Regions from separate parts of the Homo sapiens genome. Here regions 2, 3, 4, 5 and 6 are each linked to region 1. The links are contacts of gene promoters, found by promoter capture Hi-C in blood cells and fetal thymus (Javierre and others, 2016). All regions are on one chromosome and are shown on one strand. The core of a region is centred on a gene start or on the middle of the fragment in contact, and the rest is flanking DNA. Distances in the headings are between cores, read along the strand shown.

The links. Contacts are between HindIII fragments. The CHiCAGO score rates a contact against its expected background, and 5 or more counts as called.
Region 2: a contact is called between a fragment that was not itself captured here and the fragment with the promoter of BCCIP in region 1, in 2 of 17 cell types (total CD4 T cells and total B cells). The highest score is 7.1, in total CD4 T cells.
Region 3: a contact is called between a fragment that was not itself captured here and the fragment with the promoter of BCCIP in region 1, in 1 of 17 cell types (total B cells). The highest score is 5.0, in total B cells.
Region 4: the fragment with the promoter of WDR11 here is called in contact with the fragment with the promoter of BCCIP in region 1 in 1 of 17 cell types (total B cells); the score reaches 8.3 in total B cells.
Region 5: a contact is called between a fragment that was not itself captured here and the fragment with the promoter of BCCIP in region 1, in 2 of 17 cell types (naive CD8 T cells and activated CD4 T cells). The highest score is 8.1, in naive CD8 T cells.
Region 6: a contact is called between a fragment that was not itself captured here and the fragment with the promoter of BCCIP in region 1, in 3 of 17 cell types (fetal thymus, total CD8 T cells and total CD4 T cells). The highest score is 6.8, in fetal thymus.

The regions. Positions count from the first base shown.
Region 1 is chr10:125,821,985-125,825,297 of GRCh38, forward strand. It overlaps BCCIP (BRCA2 and CDKN1A interacting protein), which reads left to right and starts at 1,562. Exons shown (of 7, transcript NM_078468.3): 1 at 1,562-1,738. The coding sequence starts at 1,574. It overlaps UROS (uroporphyrinogen III synthase), which reads right to left and starts at 1,274. Exons shown (of 10, transcript NM_000375.3): 1 at 1,045-1,274. RefSeq lists silencers at 921-1,350, 2,107-2,326 and enhancers at 1,202-1,887, 1,431-1,630. The HindIII fragment of the contact is 3,281 bases long and covers 1,346-3,313 here.
Region 2 is chr10:130,140,343-130,143,338 of GRCh38, forward strand. All of the region lies in intron 1 of GLRX3 (glutaredoxin 3), which reads left to right. Among named protein-coding and RNA genes, the nearest start is that of GLRX3, 5.4 kb to the left of the region's middle. RefSeq lists enhancers at 1,352-1,401, 1,412-1,481, 1,502-1,561. The HindIII fragment of the contact is 216 bases long and covers 1,271-1,486 here.
Region 3 is chr10:122,376,750-122,379,920 of GRCh38, forward strand. All of the region lies in intron 1 of PLEKHA1 (pleckstrin homology domain containing A1), which reads left to right. Among named protein-coding and RNA genes, the nearest start is that of PLEKHA1, 3.6 kb to the left of the region's middle. The HindIII fragment of the contact is 407 bases long and covers 1,132-1,538 here.
Region 4 is chr10:120,849,577-120,852,971 of GRCh38, forward strand. It overlaps WDR11 (WD repeat domain 11), which reads left to right and starts at 1,786. Exons shown (of 29, transcript NM_018117.12): 1 at 1,786-1,930; 2 at 2,948-3,059. The coding sequence starts at 1,845. It overlaps WDR11-DT (WDR11 divergent transcript), which reads right to left and starts at 1,603. Exons shown (of 3, transcript NR_033850.1): 1 at 1,118-1,603. RefSeq lists enhancers at 1,428-1,972, 1,451-1,570, 1,731-2,200, 1,973-2,516, 2,211-2,270. The HindIII fragment of the contact is 6,223 bases long and covers 1-2,772 here.
Region 5 is chr10:129,466,458-129,469,821 of GRCh38, forward strand. MGMT (O-6-methylguanine-DNA methyltransferase) reads left to right here and starts at 784. Exons shown (of 5, transcript NM_002412.5): 1 at 784-839. RefSeq lists silencers at 424-863, 884-1,083 and an enhancer at 650-1,572. The HindIII fragment of the contact is 635 bases long and covers 1,194-1,828 here.
Region 6 is chr10:121,921,405-121,924,493 of GRCh38, forward strand. It overlaps ATE1 (arginyltransferase 1), which reads right to left. Exons shown (of 12, transcript NM_001001976.3): 2 at 2,862-2,925; 3 at 945-1,007. Among named protein-coding and RNA genes, the nearest start is that of ATE1, 5.1 kb to the right of the region's middle. The HindIII fragment of the contact is 335 bases long and covers 1,207-1,541 here.

The sequences.
Region 1 (3,313 bases), core at 312-2,811:
ATCTCGTACTGATGAAGGATCACTGATTTATCAGATGTTACCCTGCTTAAACAGAAGCAGCCTATTAGCGCAGCTCACACCATTCCTAGAATCAAACATATCCAACCCACCCCCCTCATTTTACAGAGAAAAATCAATTGAGAACCGCAGATCTTATTCCTAGAAAGCTGATGAACCCTGTTTCTCTCGCAATGGGAAGACCTGGCTGCCCCAGGCTGCATCCCCACCTGCCACAGGGGCTGGCGCTCGCTCTGCAGTTGGCCGCAGTCCCCTCCACTCTTCTCTCCAAATAGGCTCGGGTCTTTAACCTAGACTACCCCACTGGCCCCGAAGCATTTTTTTTTTTTTTTAGATAGGGTCTACCTCTGTCGCCCAGGCTGGAGTGTGGAGTGCGGTGGCGCGATCTCGGCTCACTGCAACCTCCGTCTCCTGGGGGCATGCGATTCTCCTGCCTTAGCCTCCTGAGTAGCTGGGACTACAGGCGCGCACCACCACACCTGGCTAGTTTTTGTATTTTTAGTAGAGATGGGATTTCGCCATGTTGGGCAGGCTGGTCTCGAACTCCTGACCTCAAGTGATCCACCCATCTCGGCCTCCCAAAGTGCTGGGATTACAGGTGTCCGCCACCACGCCCGGCTAATTTTTGTACTTTTAGCAGAGATGAGGTTTTGCCATGTTGGCCAGGCTGGTCTCGAACTCCTGACCTCTGGTGATCCACCCGCTTTGACCTCCCTAAGTGCTGGGATTACAGGCGCGAGACACCGGGCCCGGCCCCCCGCCGAAGCATTTTTAACTGCGGTGCCGGCTTTAAAAAAACTTTTAGGTCAAGAAATGCGCTCCAGAAGCTCGGCGAGGGTAGGCTGGGCAGGCGCCTTCCGTCACCGGCGCAGCGGTAGCGGCAGCGGACATCCCCGCCTGGGCAGGCCCAGGTCCGCGGAAGCCTCGGGGCCCTGGCCCCACTGTGTCACACACCGCCCGGGGCCGGGCCCCTGCACGCCCGCGGGCTTCGGCGTCCGTACCGGTACAGCGGGCGGCGACACCTACCTCGCGGGACCGTGCCCAGCACCCGGCCTGGCACACAGCGGGCACCCGGTCGGGGGGCGGTGTCGCGCAGTCCCAGCGAAAAGGCTGCAGGAGCAATGACAACAGGGGCGGAAGCCCCCTCCCCACGCAGCCCGAGGGGCCGCGGCGGCCACCCGCGCCGGGCCCCAGGACCCCGCACCTCAGACTGGGGTCGCGTGGGTGGCTGCGCGCAGCTAGGCGCTCGCGCATGCGCACCGCCATCCAGGCCACGGAATGAGGCCAGAGGTTAGATGGGTTGAACCACTACGGGAAGGGGAGGGGAAGCTTTGGGAGGAGTGATGGAGGGTGGAAAGCGGAAGAAAAAAGCAAGATGGGACCGCAAGCTGGACGTGACTGTAAGGGGTCATGGCTGCGGAATCCAGCAGGGGCATTGGGGTTGACGTGCACTCAGCGCCGAGCTTCTTCGTAGTTCCTCACCCCCTTGGCTACTATGGGCTGGTCCGGAAGGTCAGGCAAGGGGAAGCTGCGCAGGCGCAGTGTGAGCGGCAACATGGCGTCCAGGTCTAAGCGGCGTGCCGTGGAAAGTGGGGTTCCGCAGCCGCCGGATCCCCCAGTCCAGCGCGACGAGGAAGAGGAAAAAGAAGTCGAAAATGAGGATGAAGACGATGATGACAGTGACAAGGAAAAGGATGAAGAGGACGAGGTCATTGACGAGGTGAGAAGGACACGCTCCCCTAGTTGGTTTATACCTGAGAAAAACTTTTTGGCAAGCCCAGGCTGTGTAAAAATAGTGTAGGGTCTTCCCTGACCCTGAGGGTCTGTGAGGAGAAACTGGAGATAAGTTCTTTCTCAGGTTTCTCCTCGGTCTTTAACACACTGCAGCCATAGTAGTTATTTTTTAAAGGTCTAGTCCGGTCCAGTTAATCTCCCAACCCGCGTCCTCCCCGAAAAAGCCCGCCACAACAGGTGTGTTCTTCTCGTCCTCTTTAGTTCTCAGGCTGAAGCCTCAGATCCTGAATCGGCCACCCCGGGCTCGCAGAGGGGGCCCTCTCCCCTCGGGGCAGCAGCTGTCCTCCTCTTCACTCTGCGGGCGGCACTCACTTGGGCCCTCAGTTTCTTGAAGGCTCTTGCCGCGTTCTACCGTAGAAGCCTTTTCAAATGCTCTTCTTTATCCTGCAGTTTTCCCTTCCTTCTTCAGATCTCAGCTAGGCTGTATTTTCTGGCTCCTGGGGCAGCTGACCAAGTCGTGGGTAAATCTTTGGTTTCATAGTCTCATAGAACTGTGTTCCTTTCTTCAGACTAGGTCCTACCGTAGTGCCTGGCAATATAGGTACTTATTATTTGTTTAGTAAACAATTAGGACTGAATGATCCTTCAGCCTACTGAATGTTTAAATAGATACCTCAGCCTTAACTTGTCCAAAGCAGAATTTGTATAATAATTCATGCCCCTCTCTTAATCGTCACCATTTCTATAAATGGCCCCTAAAGTCACCAGCTGCTCTAACCCAAAACCTGGGGCTTAACTTTAATTCCTCCCTTTCCTCATCCTATATCCAGCCCATCAGTAAATCCTGTTATCCAGACATTTCTCAGCACTAATTCTGAGACCATCGTAGTCCACACCTCTATCATCTCTTGCCTGGACTACTATTTAATGTAACAGCTTTTAACCGGCGTTCTTTTCTCCATTTTTGTTCCCCTACAATCAGTCTATACTCCACTTACAGTCAGAGAGATCTTATAGGTCTGATCTCAGGCCTCTGCTTAGATTGCTGCATTGGCTTTCTAGTTCATTTACAAGAAAATCAAGAGTCTTCACAATTGAGGGACGGAAAGGCAGCCTAGATGGCTGGATCAGAATAAGGAAGAGAGAGTGATAGGAAATAAAATCAGAGAGGTAATCATGAGTCATGATGAGCATGGAGGGGAGCATGGAGAGAAGCATGGATGCAGGATTAGAGGTGACACCATGGTGTGGGTATGTGATCAATCTTCCTTCCCTTACAAATTTTACTTTGGCTCTATGCCTTGAATGCCATCTCACCATTTTTCACTTAGAACTTTGACTGGCTCTTTTATTACTTTTGGGTTATAGAAATCAATGCTGCTTGTGTTAACATGGGAAATCTATCACACCACCACAGTCTTAATTCTAAATCACCTGGGAATGAGGGACAGGGCTCTTTTCTACAAACGTGACTGTTCCTGCTGAAGCCATGTGGAGATGAGCCCATACCCAGGAAAAGGGTGCTGGACAGATAATCCATTTGCCGCCCATTTCCCTGGTG
Region 2 (2,996 bases), core at 129-2,628, 4.3 Mb after region 1:
CATTAAGATGGAAAGAATACTGTAACATGTAATCCAAAAGGGGATAACGTTTATATTTGTTTCAGATATAGTATGTCCTTATAATATTGGACATTATGTGCTTAATTGAGAAATGGAAGGTAAGCATTAAATAGGAGAATATTGTGGATAATTTCAACTAACAATATCATGTTTTAATGTTTTCAAATGTTTTATATTTTTGTTTCATCTTCTCAACATCCCAGAGTGTTGGTTATTGCTGTTTTACAGATGTGGAAGTTAAATTACTCTTCAAAACCATGTTAGTAATAATGAAACTGAAATGAATTCAGTTTCTATGGCATACTTTCTTCTTTTCTTTTTTACTTATTTGGGCTCATACTATTATAAAGTTTGGTAACCTACTTTAATTTTTGAAAAATGTAGTTATATTAGTATTTTCCTGTGGCGTTGAAAGTTCTTTGAAAATTTGATTTGTAATGGCTTTATGTTTTCTTATGACCATTTAAAAACTATTATTGAGCATCAGAAATTTTTCTGATTTGCTACGTAAAGTAGTGGGAAAATATCCATGTACAGAAAATCTTTGTCTCTTAATTACTTCCTTAGGATTGATACTTATGTGTAAGAAATTTCTGAAAGGTCCCAATTTAATTTTTACCAGCAGGACATGAAAGTACTTCTCGTCATCCTTTTTATCATTGAATATTATGATTTAAACAGTCCTTTTGTTGGCTGGGCACGGTGGCTCATGACTGTAATCCCAGCACTTTGAGAGGCGAATGCAGGCAGATTGATTGCTTGAGCCCAGGAGTTTGAGACCAGCCTGGTCATTGGCCAAAGCCCAACTTTACAAAGAACAAAATATGCCTGTAGTCTGGGAGGCTGAGGTGGGAGGATCACCTGAGCCCAGGAAGTCGAGGCTGCACTTGCCTTGCACTCCAGACTGGGCATTAGAGTAAGACCCTGTCTCAAAAAAAGAAAAAAAAAATTTTTTTTTTGGTCAATTTGGTGGAAAATGGTATCCCAGCTTTAAAAAGAAATTGAAGTATTACATACAGTAACAATGCACAGATCTTAATCGTCAGATGTGGTGAATTTTCACAATTGTATACACACCGATAACCACCATTCACAGGAAGAATATAGAACCCAGGAAGTTTTCCATCCCCTTTAGCCCAGCTACTGATTTCTTACTGTCACTGTAGATGAGTTTTCCCTGCTCTTGGACTTTGTGTGAGTAGAATCATACAGTTCTTTGTCTGTGTTATCTTTTGCTCACATATTTTCAAGCTTCATTTGTGTCATTGCTCATGTCTGTGGTTGGTTCCTTTTTACTGGTAAGTTACATTCTGTTGTATGAATGTCTATCACTTTCTCCTGTTGGCGGACATTTGGCTAATTTCCAGTTTTGATTTATTATGTATAGGGCTGCTGTGAGCATTCTTGCATGAGGCCTCTGTGAACCTCTGTTTTGTTCTTGCCATCCTTAGGCAATGGACAAAAAAGCTTCCCTGGATCCTCTTCATTGCTGGAGGCTATGGTGGGCAGAGGCTCCTGAGGGAGGGTTTTGAGGGGTCAGGCCTGTGTTCTAGTTTTAGGGCCAGAATTCAGTTCCAGGGCCCCAGACAACTGCAAGGAAGACTGAAAAATGTAATCTAGCTGAATGCACAGGAGGAAGATGAAACAGTGCTTGATTGAAACAGCACAGTCTCTGCCGTGGACCTGAGGCCCCACCTACTCAACCATTGAAGCTGCTGAGTTGTGCTGGATGCAAATTAACATCCGGTGACTAGGGGCTCCTACAATGTGTCCTTCCCTGCCTTAGGTGGGTCTTCATTTGGAGCTTCCTGCTTTCCTTGTGTGCCTGTGGACACTCTCCCTTCATCAGTCCTACCAGTGGTCTTGCCCTCTGTTTTCCTATGCTTTGATAAATGACCTTGCTTCCCACCTGAGAGAAAACAGGATTTCAGGTAGCATCTCCCCAAGCCCTCCTTCCACTCTCACCTCTCCCAACACTTACCATTTATTTGTAGCCTTACCCATTCTTAATTCCTTGGCTCCTGACTCAGAGGAGACTGCCTTCTTCTTCTTCAAGGTAAGCTCTTCTCTGCTCTGGATTTCCCCTCTCCTGCCTCTTCTGAGTCCTTGCATCCTCAGCTGTCTTGTGTCTACGGCCCTTCCCTCTCCATTTGCACTATCCCCTAGTAAAATAAACATATAAGGATTTTCTTGTATTAAAAAGGCCCATCCCTTGATTTTGTCTTTTTCTCTGCCTGTACAGATCTCTTAGAGTACATCTCTGCTTCCTCATCTTCACTTCAGTCCTCAGTGGACTGCAGTCTGACCTGTGCTTCTGCTATTCCATTGAAGGTACTCTCTCTGTTAGTTGCCCTTTCCTGTTGCATTGGATGATTGTCACTCCCTCTTGACACTCTTCTCTTGACTTCTATGTGACCCTTCAATCTTCCAGTACCGCCTAGGACCCCTTAATCTTCCAGTACCGCCTAGGACCCCTTCTCTGCTTTACTACATAAGTTCCTTCTCCTCCATCTGTCCTAACTTAATGTTGATAAGCCCCCTGAGGCGCTGACCTCGGGTCTCCTCTGTGTCCCTCTGTAACCCTTTGCGGTGTGGTGCTGGCACTGTTCCTTTCTTGATTCCCAAATCTGTATATCAGGTGCAGACTTCTTCCCTGAGCTCTAGACATCATACTAACAACCCATTAAACTTCCTTTCCTCAGGTTGGCAGCTTCTGCACTATGATTTGAGGCATAGTGCCACCACTAGCCATCAGTCTCTAAGCCAGAACTTGGAGCCAGCTGTAGACTGCCTTATCTGTCACCAAATCCTGCCCCTTCTACCTTCGAAATCCTCATGCTGCTCTTTGCTTCTGCTTTCCTGACACTTTATTGTAGGCTTATTCTCTTCTCGCTGGTATTATTTGATCAGTTTTTACAGTTTGTTATTCCTTTCCTTACCCATAGGTTAGTTGTCCTTGGTTCTTTTTGCCATGG
Region 3 (3,171 bases), core at 85-2,584, 3.4 Mb before region 1:
ATACAATTGTGAGGAAACTGCCATGAGTTCATAAGCCGGAAGGACCTTTTTAGAAGTGTTTAAGGATGTTAAGAATAGCATTGGATTCTTTTCTTTAAAAGTCATTCAAGTATCGTTTGCTAACATATAGGATATGACAATATTGACCACTCCTAGGAAGATACTTGGGAAAGGTGGAAACATTTTACATTTTTATGGGGACTTCCCCCCACAAAAAACATTTAATGGAGATTTAAACAAAGTGGCTTTTTGACTTAAGCCTGGAAGTTCTTTATTATTATTAGTCATGCTGCAAATCCCGAAGTTATTTTAATTGTGTGATAATTTGTAACCCAGAATGAAATCTAATAAATAGTTTATTAATATAATTTAAGTCATACTTTGACATTGACATATTGCTTGATGTCAAGTCATTATTGTTTAAATAACTTATTTGAGAATGGGGAAGATAGTTTTCTGAATATAGTGTAGTAATTATTTGTGACAATAGTAACATTGCTTTTATTAGAAAATTTTGGGTTGATATAACTAACTGCCTTAAAGTATTTCCTATTTGATTCCAACTGTGAGCTGAGGTAATATGCAAATAATTACTTTTCTCATGCTGGAGCAGTTTACTTTTGTTAATATTAAAATTTAAATTTCAAGATTAAAAAATCTTGTTTTAGATCTGCAATGATACAATAAAATGACTTCAATAGGAGTTAAATATTAAGATTTGGTTTTAGGTTTTTTGACCATTTGTGAGTACACATCCAGCATTTAAGAATTTATTGACATGGTGTCTGAAAGGAATGCTTTCAGAAAGGGCAGAAAACTTGGTAGCTTTAGATGATTGTTTATAATGCTTAATTATTTTTAGAAACATAAAAATATGGGATGTTTTTATGTAAACATAAAGCATCCTGTTATTTGTTATAGCACTAGAACTCTCTTACACTTACTGAGCAATATTAAACCATTTGACCCTAAGTAACTTTTTTTCTTGTGGGTACTGTCTAATAAGGGATATGTGAGTTTGTGATTCCTAGAAGATGCTTAAGCAAACATATGTTTGCTATTTATTTTAGTAAGCCTTTTAATTAGTTGAATTGATAATATTCAGGAAGATAGGGTTTTTGGGATTTTATAAGCTTTCTTTGAACTGGAATTTCTGTTGGATATAAAAGAAAATTAGTCATTTAAGATTTTTTTAAGTTAAATAAGTTTTAGAGCAAAATATTGTTTCCTACATGGAACTCTTACCAGGCTTGTCAGTCTGATAGCTTTATTCTCCAGAAAGTTGTGGTTTTTAGCCCTTTAGGCAGCCTAGCCTTTTATGGTTTAACCATTGAACTCTAGATTCTGGATTGAATTTAACCTCTTGAAGGAAAAGACGATCACAGGCACTAGAATTGGAAGTGATGTCAGAGGGCTTCTAATGTAGCATCTTACCCGGTACAGTAAATCCCTCCTGAGAATTTCCATGTCAGGTGTTCCCTCCCATTATTAAGGATGAGAATGCTATTGCATATGTCATCAGGTTATTCAGCAGTCCAAGCTTACTGAGAACAAACACAAGAGTTTTAATGAGTTTTAATTTTCACTATTCACTGCCTTTAACTGTATTTTGTAGGCTCTTTCCCACCCCCCTGTCCCCCACCCCCCATAACATCATGGGTAAATGATAGCTTTTCTGTCATTTACAGTTATCAAAAAGCTCTAGGCTGGGCTCAGTGGCTCATGCCTGTAATCCCAGCACTTCAGAAAGCCGAGGTGGGAGGATAGCTTGAGCCCAGGAGTTTGAGACCAGCCTGGGCAACATGACGAAACCTTGTCTCTACAGAAAATAGAAAAATCAGCCGGGCGTGGTGGCATGTGCCTGTAGTCCCAGCTAGTTGGGAGGCTGTTGTAGGAGGATCCCTTGAGCCTGGGAGGCAGAGGTTCCAGTGAACAGAGACTGTGCTGTGGCACTCCAGCCTGGGTGACAGGAGAGTGAGACCCTGTCTCCAAAAAAAAAAAAAAAACAGAAAAACAAAAACAAAAAATTGCAGTCTATTCCAGTTTGAACATTCAATCTCATATATATTCAATTTAAAGGTTTTTTTTCCCTTCCTTACCCTGTGGTCAGGCCACTTACTTACTGAAGCACTTGGGGTATGGACGGCTTGTGGTAAGCTCCTGGGATACTTCTTTCCTTTCCCTCTTAAGGGATCTATTTGGATACAAATGTGTCAAGAAGAGAAGTAGAAAAAGACAAGTGTTTGTTATCTGGTGCTATTAGAGTCCTCTCTTGATTAACAGTGGCAGGCCATTGCAGTCTACTAATAGGCAACCAAACTGGCATTTTTGGTGAGATCTTGCAGGGAGACTCCTGCTGCACAGTTTCTGGGTATGAAATTTTCTGTAGCTAAACCTTTTCCAACCTACACACCCATCTGCTTGCTCCCATCCTGTCAGTTTACCCACTGGTTACGTGAATGTGTGTGAGTCGGGGTGGAGATCTTTTCTCTCTGCAGCGAGATATTTTGATAATGGCAAAACAACTTCAATCCAGGTACGCTGTGGTTTCTATTCAACCCACTGGAAACTCACTTCCTTGTGATGTCGAATAGTGGCATACAGACTACTTAAGTCTGCCTTCTTTCTGTGCCCTGCCATTTCTCATCAATTCTCTTTGTCCCCCTTTTCAAGTAGACACATGGGGTCAGTCACTCAGTCTGCTGCATAAGCAGATGTGGAACTGGAGAATGGGATGCAAGTCTGTTCTAGGCTCCTCTGATCTTCATGAGTGATTTCTGTTAGAGGCCCCTGCCACTGTTTTGGTGAAGACCTCCTTCTTTTCCCTGCGTTCTCCCTGAAGACTTACAGTTCTTTCCCTCTCTTCTGTCAACTGCTCTTGCAGAGTGGAAGGATGGTGCTGATTAGGGTGCCAGAGCCATGCCTGACTCTACAGATATTTGATCCTCTATGTCTATATATCCTCAGCTTTGTGTTTGTCAGTGATTGTGGGGCAACAGGACTAGTCCCACTCGACATGTTTTAACAAATAATAGTGAAGTCTTGTGGGCCTGTTGAGGTCTCACTGTACAGAATTTAATTTTTCTTTGCTTTTTCTTATATCACTCAGGCTGTTTCTGTGTTTTGCCTTATTTTTTGGCTTCCTGGTTCCTGACTGATGAGGTGTTAACT
Region 4 (3,395 bases), core at 536-3,035, 5.0 Mb before region 1:
TCTTTTGTAGTCATACTCCTATTCACCATTCTCAACTACTCATACATGCCCTGCTCTTGTTTACACTGCCGGTTTACACTGTTTCTCCAAGCCATCACAGCTGATATCTCCTGGTGCTATCCCCAAACTGCCACTCTAAACTCTTGAAGTAAATAAATAATCTTTGCTGGCAGGACTATGCTGAATCTCCTTAGGCACTCTCTAATCAGATGTCCTATGTCCTCCCAATTCTTAGACCTTTTATACCTGTTTTTCTCCTTCTCTTATTCCATTTAGTTTCTCAATTCATCCAAAACCGTATCCAGGCCGTCACCAATCATTCTATACGACAAATGTTTCTTCTTACATCCCCACAATATCACCCCTTACCACAAGACCTCCCTTCAGCTTAATCTCTCCCACTGTAGGTTCCCACGCCACCCCTAATCCCACTTGAAGCAGCCCTGAGAAACATCACCCATTCTCTCTCCATACCACCCCCCAAAAATTTTCGCCGCCTCAACACTTCAACACTATTTTGTTTTGTCTTATTAATATAAGAAGGCAGGAATGTCACGCCTCTGAGCCCAGGCCAGGCCATCGCATCCCGTGACTTGCATGTATACATCCAGATGGCCTAAAGTAACTGAAGATCCACAAAAGAAGTACAAACAGCCTTAACTGATGACATTCAACCACTGTGATTTGTTCCTGCCCCACCCTAACTGATCAATGTACTTTGTAATCTCCCCCACCCTTAAGAAGGTTCTTTGTAATTCTCCCCACCCTTGAGAATGTACTTTGTGAGATCCACCCCTGCCCACCAGAGAACAACCCCCTTTGACTAATTTTCCATTACCTTCCCAAATCCTATAAAACAGCCCCACCCCTATCTCCCTTCGCTGACTCTTTTCGGACTTAGCCCACCTGCACCCATGTGAAATAAACAGCTTTATTGCTCACATAAAGCCTGTTTGGTGGTCTCTTCACACGGACGCGCATGAAACTAACAATGTATTGGGGAGAGAAACACACATCTGCAAATATCATTGCTGAAAAGAAATCATTGCATTAAGTGCTATAGTTAAAGCGTATAAACCCAACACTGAACACAAAGGAGGGAAGGACTGGGTCTGACCTGGAGAGCAGCAGAGGAGAAAGTGCGAAATGAAAGGTACCCAGCAACAGACAAAGGGTCACACTTGGCCCCAGACATAGTGCTTCTTCCTCAAGTGCGAAGGGAGTATTGCAAACACCAGATATGCAGTGTTATCTGTATTTGGAAATTGTTTATATTCAGGCCATTCACTTCATTCAGTCTGGCAATTTCATTCAATTAATCTCATTCATTTCTTAATTAATCTCATTCATTATTCTCTGTAAACTCCACGAGAGCGGAGACTTTGTGTCTTCTTCATCGGTAGATCCCCCATGCCTACTGGCACTAGTAGTTGCCCTAAATTCACTTATCAAAGGCAGCAAGAATAACTGGGACTCTTCTCTCTTGCTTTTCACGATTTCCAGCAGGGCACAAAGGCCTACAGTCCCCACCTGAAAAAAACAGACTTGACTGGAGGCAGCGCCTCTTCTTCCAAATACAGCCCCAGCTGACGCAGATTAGCACAACCGCCTAAGCGGCGGAACTCTGGAGAGTGCGGAACCTAGGATCCTAGGAAACTGAAGGCAACGGAACCTGGGGGCGATGGAATCCGGGAGCGGTGGAACCCGGAGCCTGTAGAACTTGAATCTAGAGGAACCTGACAGCGGCGCCGAGGGGGCCACCCGGACTCTGTTTGGAACGGAAGCACAGTGTCCGCCGCTTCCTGGTTGCGGGTCAGCGCCCAGGTCCTGGGCTGGCCGCCGGGATGTTGCCCTACACAGTGAACTTCAAGGTGTCGGCGCGCACCCTCACGGGGGCCCTCAACGCCCACAACAAGGCGGCGGTGGACTGGTGAGGACGCCGAGCTTCCAGGTCGCCAGGATCGGCCAGGAATGTGTGAGGGGGAAGGGGGAAGGACAAGAGGTTTCACCCCCTGGTTAGTTTGGCCTCGCTAAGGCAGGGAGCCGCCCTCACGCAATGAGCTTGCTTTCAGTTGGTGGATTTTTGTTGTTACAAAAGTGATAATAGCCCCGTGTGGGAAATTCCCCCATGCAAATACATTTCCCCTCTTTCTCGCGTATTTCTCTGCTGTTTTCTCTGCACCTCGCCCTTTTGCCGTTCCATTCCTCTCTCTTTTCCTCTCCTCCAGCTTCCAGGCTTCTCTCTCTCCACCATTAATTCCCTGTGCACTTTCTCTTTCCCATCCTGTCTTTTCTTTTTCGTTGTCTTGTATTCCTGTTGTCTTTCAACAATGTGCCAGACCCTGTGCTAGGCGCCTGTTCTTTCACCTGTCCTTTTCACCTCTTTTCGGGCTCCTCCTGTGTAGAACATTCCTGCCTTCAACAGGTCGTCTTTATTACTCTCTCCTTTCACTATAAATTACTACTGCAGCTCTGAAAACTACTCATTAGACAAATGTAAAGCAAAATTCTGTGGCTGTGGGATGTTGTTAGGAGGACTGAAACGTCTTGTGCAGTGTTTGTCGTTTTATTTAGTTGGAAGGACTAGGATTAGTCGCAGTATCCCCAGGCACATTGTGGATACTAAGGATTAGAAATCGGATAAGCGAAAGACGTATGCCTACAAGAACAGTCAGAGGGCACAAGTTCCTTTTTATGTCCTCGGGTCTCTATTTTCATATCTTTTAGAACTTTTTTTATCCGAATGAAAAGTGAATTTCAACAAGCATTTTAAGCTTAGCCAGATCTTTTATTTAAGTGGGATAATGATAAATACTGGCCTTTGGGTTTAAATGATTTTATTAATGGTGGTACATATGAATTAGACTTATCATTTATTTAGGCTTGGCAAGAAAGAAGTCGTCCTGCTTTGTTCTGTACTTAAACTTTAACATTACTGTTTTGCTAGGGGCTGGCAAGGTTTAATTGCTTATGGATGTCATTCACTTGTGGTAGTGATTGATTCCATTACTGCCCAAACTCTTCAAGTTTTAGAAAAGCATAAAGCTGATGTTGTAAAGGTAAGTAAAATCCCACTTTGACGCTAACATGTTGTCTAGTCTAAAGTTTAATACTGTGTATCACTAAGCTCTCATTAAGTCTTACGTGTAAGTGTTGAATAGCTTTTAAATATAACAACCTATTTGGGGTAGCCTAGAATTTTCATATATATGACTTAATGTCAATACAGGGTGAGTTATTAAATGCTAGTTGTTAGATCATTTTAAGGCAGATGAAAGTTCTACCATTTACAAGACCACTCAGTCATTCCTTAGTTTTGAGCACTTACCATATGCTATGGATATGGAGATGAAAGCCCTCAGATAATTCTCCATCTTATAAGGAAGACTCACAGC
Region 5 (3,364 bases), core at 261-2,760, 3.6 Mb after region 1:
CAACTCCTAATAACGTCCACACAACCCCAAGCAGGGCCTGGCACCCTGTGTGCTCTCTGGAGAGCGGCTGAGTCAGGCTCTGGCAGTGTCTAGGCCATCGGTGACTGCAGCCCCTGGACGGCATCGCCCACCACAGGCCCTGGAGGCTGCCCCCACGGCCCCCTGACAGGGTCTCTGCTGGTCTGGGGGTCCCTGACTAGGGGAGCGGCACCAGGAGGGGAGAGACTCGCGCTCCGGGCTCAGCGTAGCCGCCCCGAGCAGGACCGGGATTCTCACTAAGCGGGCGCCGTCCTACGACCCCCGCGCGCTTTCAGGACCACTCGGGCACGTGGCAGGTCGCTTGCACGCCCGCGGACTATCCCTGTGACAGGAAAAGGTACGGGCCATTTGGCAAACTAAGGCACAGAGCCTCAGGCGGAAGCTGGGAAGGCGCCGCCCGGCTTGTACCGGCCGAAGGGCCATCCGGGTCAGGCGCACAGGGCAGCGGCGCTGCCGGAGGACCAGGGCCGGCGTGCCGGCGTCCAGCGAGGATGCGCAGACTGCCTCAGGCCCGGCGCCGCCGCACAGGGCATGCGCCGACCCGGTCGGGCGGGAACACCCCGCCCCTCCCGGGCTCCGCCCCAGCTCCGCCCCCGCGCGCCCCGGCCCCGCCCCCGCGCGCTCTCTTGCTTTTCTCAGGTCCTCGGCTCCGCCCCGCTCTAGACCCCGCCCCACGCCGCCATCCCCGTGCCCCTCGGCCCCGCCCCCGCGCCCCGGATATGCTGGGACAGCCCGCGCCCCTAGAACGCTTTGCGTCCCGACGCCCGCAGGTCCTCGCGGTGCGCACCGTTTGCGACTTGGTGAGTGTCTGGGTCGCCTCGCTCCCGGAAGAGTGCGGAGCTCTCCCTCGGGACGGTGGCAGCCTCGAGTGGTCCTGCAGGCGCCCTCACTTCGCCGTCGGGTGTGGGGCCGCCCTGACCCCCACCCATCCCGGGCGAGCTCCAGGTGCGCCCCAAGTGCCTCCCAGGTGTTGCCCAGCCTTTCCCCGGGCCTGGGGTTCCTGGACTAGGCTGCGCTGCAGTGACTGTGGACTGGCGTGTGGCGGGGGTCGTGGCAGCCCCTGCCTTACCTCTAGGTGCCAGCCCCAGGCCCGGGCCCCGGGTTCTTCCTACCCTTCCATGCTGCCAGCTTTCCCTCCGCCAGCTGCTCCAGGAAGCTTCCAGAAGCCCCTGCGCGGGCCTTGGCTTGCAGCAACCCTTTAGCATACTTAGGCAGAGTCCCATATTTCCTTCCTGCTGGAGGCCAAGTTCTAGGGGCCTTCTGGTTACTATGGCTGGTGTTTGTGTACATCATACCCTAACTGTATTCATCAACACTTAGAGTAAGCAAGGCTCGCTGGAGAGCCACACACACTGGGCACCGTAATGTCGGTTATAACACCGCAGAGGAGTTCTGAACTATGTATTTCGCACTCCTGGGTTCATCATCTCCTGAAATCTCAGGGTGGTGTTTGCTCTCAGTTGCTTCAGCTGAGTAGCTGGCTTTCTGTCCTGGAAAGCAGACTTTGTACATGTGTGTGCAACCTATGCCTGCTGAGATCATCATCAGACAGGGAAGCGGCTTGGTCCAGAGAGCTGTTCTCAGTAGAATGTTAAGCACAGAGAGCTGAGAATTAGACTGGTTATTTACATAGACATCCAAATAGAAACCTATAGAGTATCTGTTAAGTCAGGCTCTCCCGTCATCTCCCCCATCCCTGGGCAGGTGTCTAGGAGATGGTTTTGTTATTTTCAGGGCCCTCTCAATGGCTAAAACACTCTGGGAGATGAACAAGATTTTAAAAACCCAAAGCTTAGCGCACCTGGTGGGTGGGGGTGTGAAAACTTTGAAGGAAACCGCGTCAAGAGCCTGGCTGATTGTTAATATCACGTTAACTCAGAGGGCCAGGATACTTGCCCAGACCCGGAGTCTGCCTGCAAGTAGCAGAGGAGAGCTGGCCTTGCTCTGCCGCGTGTCTTTCTTCCTGGGCCCTCTGTCTCGGGTTGGAATTTGAATAGTGGAGTAGTGTCTGCCACAGTCAGGGGCCTGGATGAAGTAGACCACCAGTACGGAGCTATACTCAGGTACTTTTCAATGTATATATCTTCATTAAAAAAAAAAAATCTGGGCCAGGCACAGTGGGTCACGCCTGTAATCTCAGCACTTTGGGAGGCCGAGGTGGGTGGATCACCTGAAGTCAGGAGTTTGAGACCAGCCTGGCCAACATGGTGAAACCCAGTTTCTACTAAAAACACAAAAATTATCCAGGCGTGGTGGTGCATGCTGGTAATCCCAGTTACTTGGGAGACTGAGGCAGGAGAATTGCTTGAACCTGGGAGGCGGAGGTTGCAGTGAGCCGAGATTGCGCCATTGCACTCCAACCTGGGCGACGAGAGTGAAACTGTCCTGAAGGGGAAACAAAAAAATCTGTATCAAAATAAGGATTTAACTAATAGTATTAGGCACTACTTTAAAAAGGCTTTGCTGTTAGTAAGGTTGAAAGAAATAGAGCCCTAGGTATACATTGGGTAGCACCTTGTTCAGCTGCTCAGATTCTTGAACCTTGTTGAGGTCTTACTTTGATATCACCTGGGCCTTACTTTTCGTTGTTTGGGTTTCCTCCCCAGGTGTCTCAATCAGGGCCTCCTCTGTCCTTTTGCAGGGAAGAAGGGGGTAGGAAGGGCCTGAAAAAGAACTTGCCTTCCCCATTGCCCCCTCAGAGTTTGTTCCTCTCCAGTCCTCTTCCCACCCTTTCTTAGGACACCAAAACCCTGACTCTTTCAGTATTTTATAATAAAATAAAGTTACTAAATTGTCTGTTCTGTTTTGCAGAGGACACACATTTAGGAGCCAGTGATTCAGACCTTCCATTTTTCTTTTTGGTGCTAATGCTCTTTTCAGTATATTCTCTTTGATAGAAAAAAAATGGAGGCAAAACTGAATTTTCTGCATTATCTTTTCCTTTAGCATTATTCTTGTTTCTGCACTTCATTCTGACCCCCTTCCCCAGCATAAAGTTCCATGTCCAGATCCACTTGCCCTGAGATTTTTGACTTCCGTTTGGGACTCTAGTCCCTCCAGGGGACACATTGAGCCTCCCAGACCCTGCAGGGCCCTGTGCTCATTCGGCTCTTGGGCTGTTGCTACGGTCCTTCCTGACCCTCTGTTTCCTGGGACAAGTAGTTTTTAATGCAGCTACTTTCTGAAAGAGCTGGGGTCTTACCGCAGAATATTATTTTATTATTTTTAGAGACAAGGTCTTGGTCTTTCGCCCAGGCTGGAGTGCAGTGGTGAGATCATAGCTCCCTGCAGCCTCAAGCTCCTGGGCTCAAGCGAACCTCCTGCT
Region 6 (3,089 bases), core at 124-2,623, 3.9 Mb before region 1:
CGGCCCAGACCCAGGAAAAGCCTTGATAATATTATCTAGTGTGCTCTGGAGATTCTCCCAGCACTCAACATGCAGAGAAGAAAAAATAAATTTTCCTTTGTTTTACGGAATGAGTTCATAGATTCCTGTTCTCTGTAACTAGTGACTTCAAGTATTGTTTTATCTGAGAAGTACAATGAATGTCATGAGAAGCCTGAGTAGGCCTGAACTGCAGCTGCCTGGGCACCATAGTGAAGATTATGGGATAAGCCCAGGCAAACCTAGATAACGGACATCTGGGTTGCTTGGCAACGGTCATGTGCAATCCTGAGTTTGTCCTGCCTCTGTATCCCTGCTTTCACGCCACTGTAAGCTTGCTTCAAGCTAGCCCACCCCCTTCTGTGAACTGTGTATAAAAGTCTTTGTTCCGGGCCCAGTCTTTTAGACGTTGAGTCAGCTGGGCCTAAGTGCACTCAATAAAGTTTCTCCTGTTTTAACCCGAGGTCTCTCTTGTCCTCCTGAATCCCACAACATGAGAACGTGAACCTACCAAGTAATTTATAGGAGCCTGTAGCATTGCTTGAACACAAGCACTGTGTCAAGCAATACACCAGAATGCAGAAAATTCTAAGCTAAGTCCTATAATATTTAATATCCAAAAGTAATGTGAATATTTACCAACATTTTCCCAATATTTCATGGCATTCATTGACAAGATTGCTAAATTAAGAGGGTATTTTTTTCACATATTTATATCTGAACCAATCAAACAATATTACTAAAACCTACTGATCAGCACATAAATACAGCATCAGTATGAAGAAAAGACATAACTCATTTACTTTTCCTTTTAAAGGACATCTACCTAGAGCGGAAATAAACATTAAAAAAGCACAAGAGACTACTAAAATATTATACACAATCTTCATACTATAAATCCTCTTTCTACTAATTAAAATTCTTACCTTATTGTGTACTGAGGACAACATGTTTGATTCATGACAGGTTTGTACACATATTTTCCACTTCTAAAATTATAAAAATAGTTTGTTAATGTCTTATATATTTTTCACTTGCACCAAAACAGCCTAGCACAGGAGCATTAAATTAAGGTTAAAAATCTAATCAACATTGTAGAAATGCATGTAGGTTTAATTACTCTTCATAAGCCAAATAATCTTCAAAGTGCGTGTAGCAAAGTTTAGAACCCTGCCTTTTATTTCCTAAAGCTTTACTTGTGTACCCCACGGCCAATCATCTCAGTTCCCCTCTCACCAGCATCTGCCACCCCTGCTCTGCCTTCACCTGCCACCAATCCCCAATACCACAAGGGCAATGAGAGAAATGCCCACGATGCTGTGGGACTCATGTATGTGATGCCTGTGACAACCACACTTGGGTATTCCACATGCACCAGCACGGAGTACCCCAAAACTAACCCGCTTCTTTCCATGCATTCCAGGTCTATGGTACTAACAGAACTGTTCATTCTGTTCTCAAGTCAGAGACCTGGGAGTCATTTTAAACTCCTCCCTGGAATTCACCTCTATATCCTATTAGCAAGCTTTCCTTCATTTTAAACCCTATCCTAAATTGTCCCCTCTTCTCTATCACCATTGCCACTAAGGTGACAGTCCTCATCATCGCACATCTGGATAGCGCAATAACCTTTGAACTCATCTTCCTGCCTCTATGACCCCCCCTCAAATACCTCTCAGCCATCTGAACAATCTTTTCTAAAACAAATTCCTTCACATTTCTCTCTTACCATAAAATCCTTCCATGACTGCCTTCTAAAAAGTTCTGGCCAGGCATGGTGGTTCATACCTATAATCCCAACACTTTGAAAAGCTAAGCTGGAAGAACACTTGCAACCAGATGTTCGAGACCAGCACGGGCAACATAGCCAAGATCTTACAAAAAACTGAAAAATTAGCCAGGTGTTGTGATGCACACCTGTAGTCCTAGCCACTGCAGAGGCTGAGGCAAGAGGATCACTTGAGTGTGGGAATTTGGGGTTACAGTGAGCTATGATGATGGCACTGTACTCTAGCCTGGGCAAGAGAGCGACTCTAGCCTGGGCAACAGAGCGAGACCATGTCTCTAAAAAAAAAAGTTCCTTATCATGGCATGTGAAGTCCTTTAAAATCTGACCTATGTCTACCTTTTGAATCTCATTAAGTTTAAGGAAAGTTGTGATATTTCAGCTGGTGCTCCCAATCCCACGTCTTTGGCAAGTATTAGCGTACAGTATTTAATATTACTTATATTTACACAAGGAACTTTACCTAAGAGTTACTTAAAAATCATCCACATAAAAATAACTACTCAAAACAGGCCATGTGTGGACTTTAAGGAAATCCTTATCCAAATAAACTGTTAAAGAAGACATTTTTGAGACAATCTGGAAAATCTAATAAAAAGTAGGTAACAGGTAACATCAAAGAATTTTTATTAATTTTGTAAGGTGTGATACAGCATTGTGGATAAGTTAAAAAGAAAAAAAGACCTCTCTCTTAGAGATACATACTTATTGCCTATCTATTGATAGGATAAATGTCATAATAACCTACTGATGTAATTTGCTGTTAAATATTAAAAGGTGGAGCAGGAGAATCAAACATGATTGGCAGAACGTTAATAACTGCTGAAGCTTAGTGATAGGTACTTGAGGTTCATTCTAATGTACTCTCTGCTTTTATAGATATTTGACATTTTCCTAACAAAGTTTTTTAAAAAGGAGACAAAAAATCACTACATAAAAGAATATAATAAAAATTTTTCTTAAACCTCTTTCCAACAGGAAAGCATTTCAAAGGCATGCTGTATTTTTCAAGAACCTGAGTAACAGTAGGAAGTCTCTTTGTATCTGGAAGCTTTACCTTCGCCATCCTCGGTCTATGAGATCCTGATAATCCTGTACTGTCATGGAATGTGCCCACATGCCTGAAAAAATAAGTAGTGTGTTAATTACGGCAGGGTAACCTTTTTTCTTTTTTAAATTCAAAGTGTGAGGTTTAAAAATAGGAGTGTGTGTCCGGGCACGGTGGCTCATGCCTGTAATCCCAGCACTCTGGGAGGCCAAGGCGGGCAAATCACAAGGTCAGGAG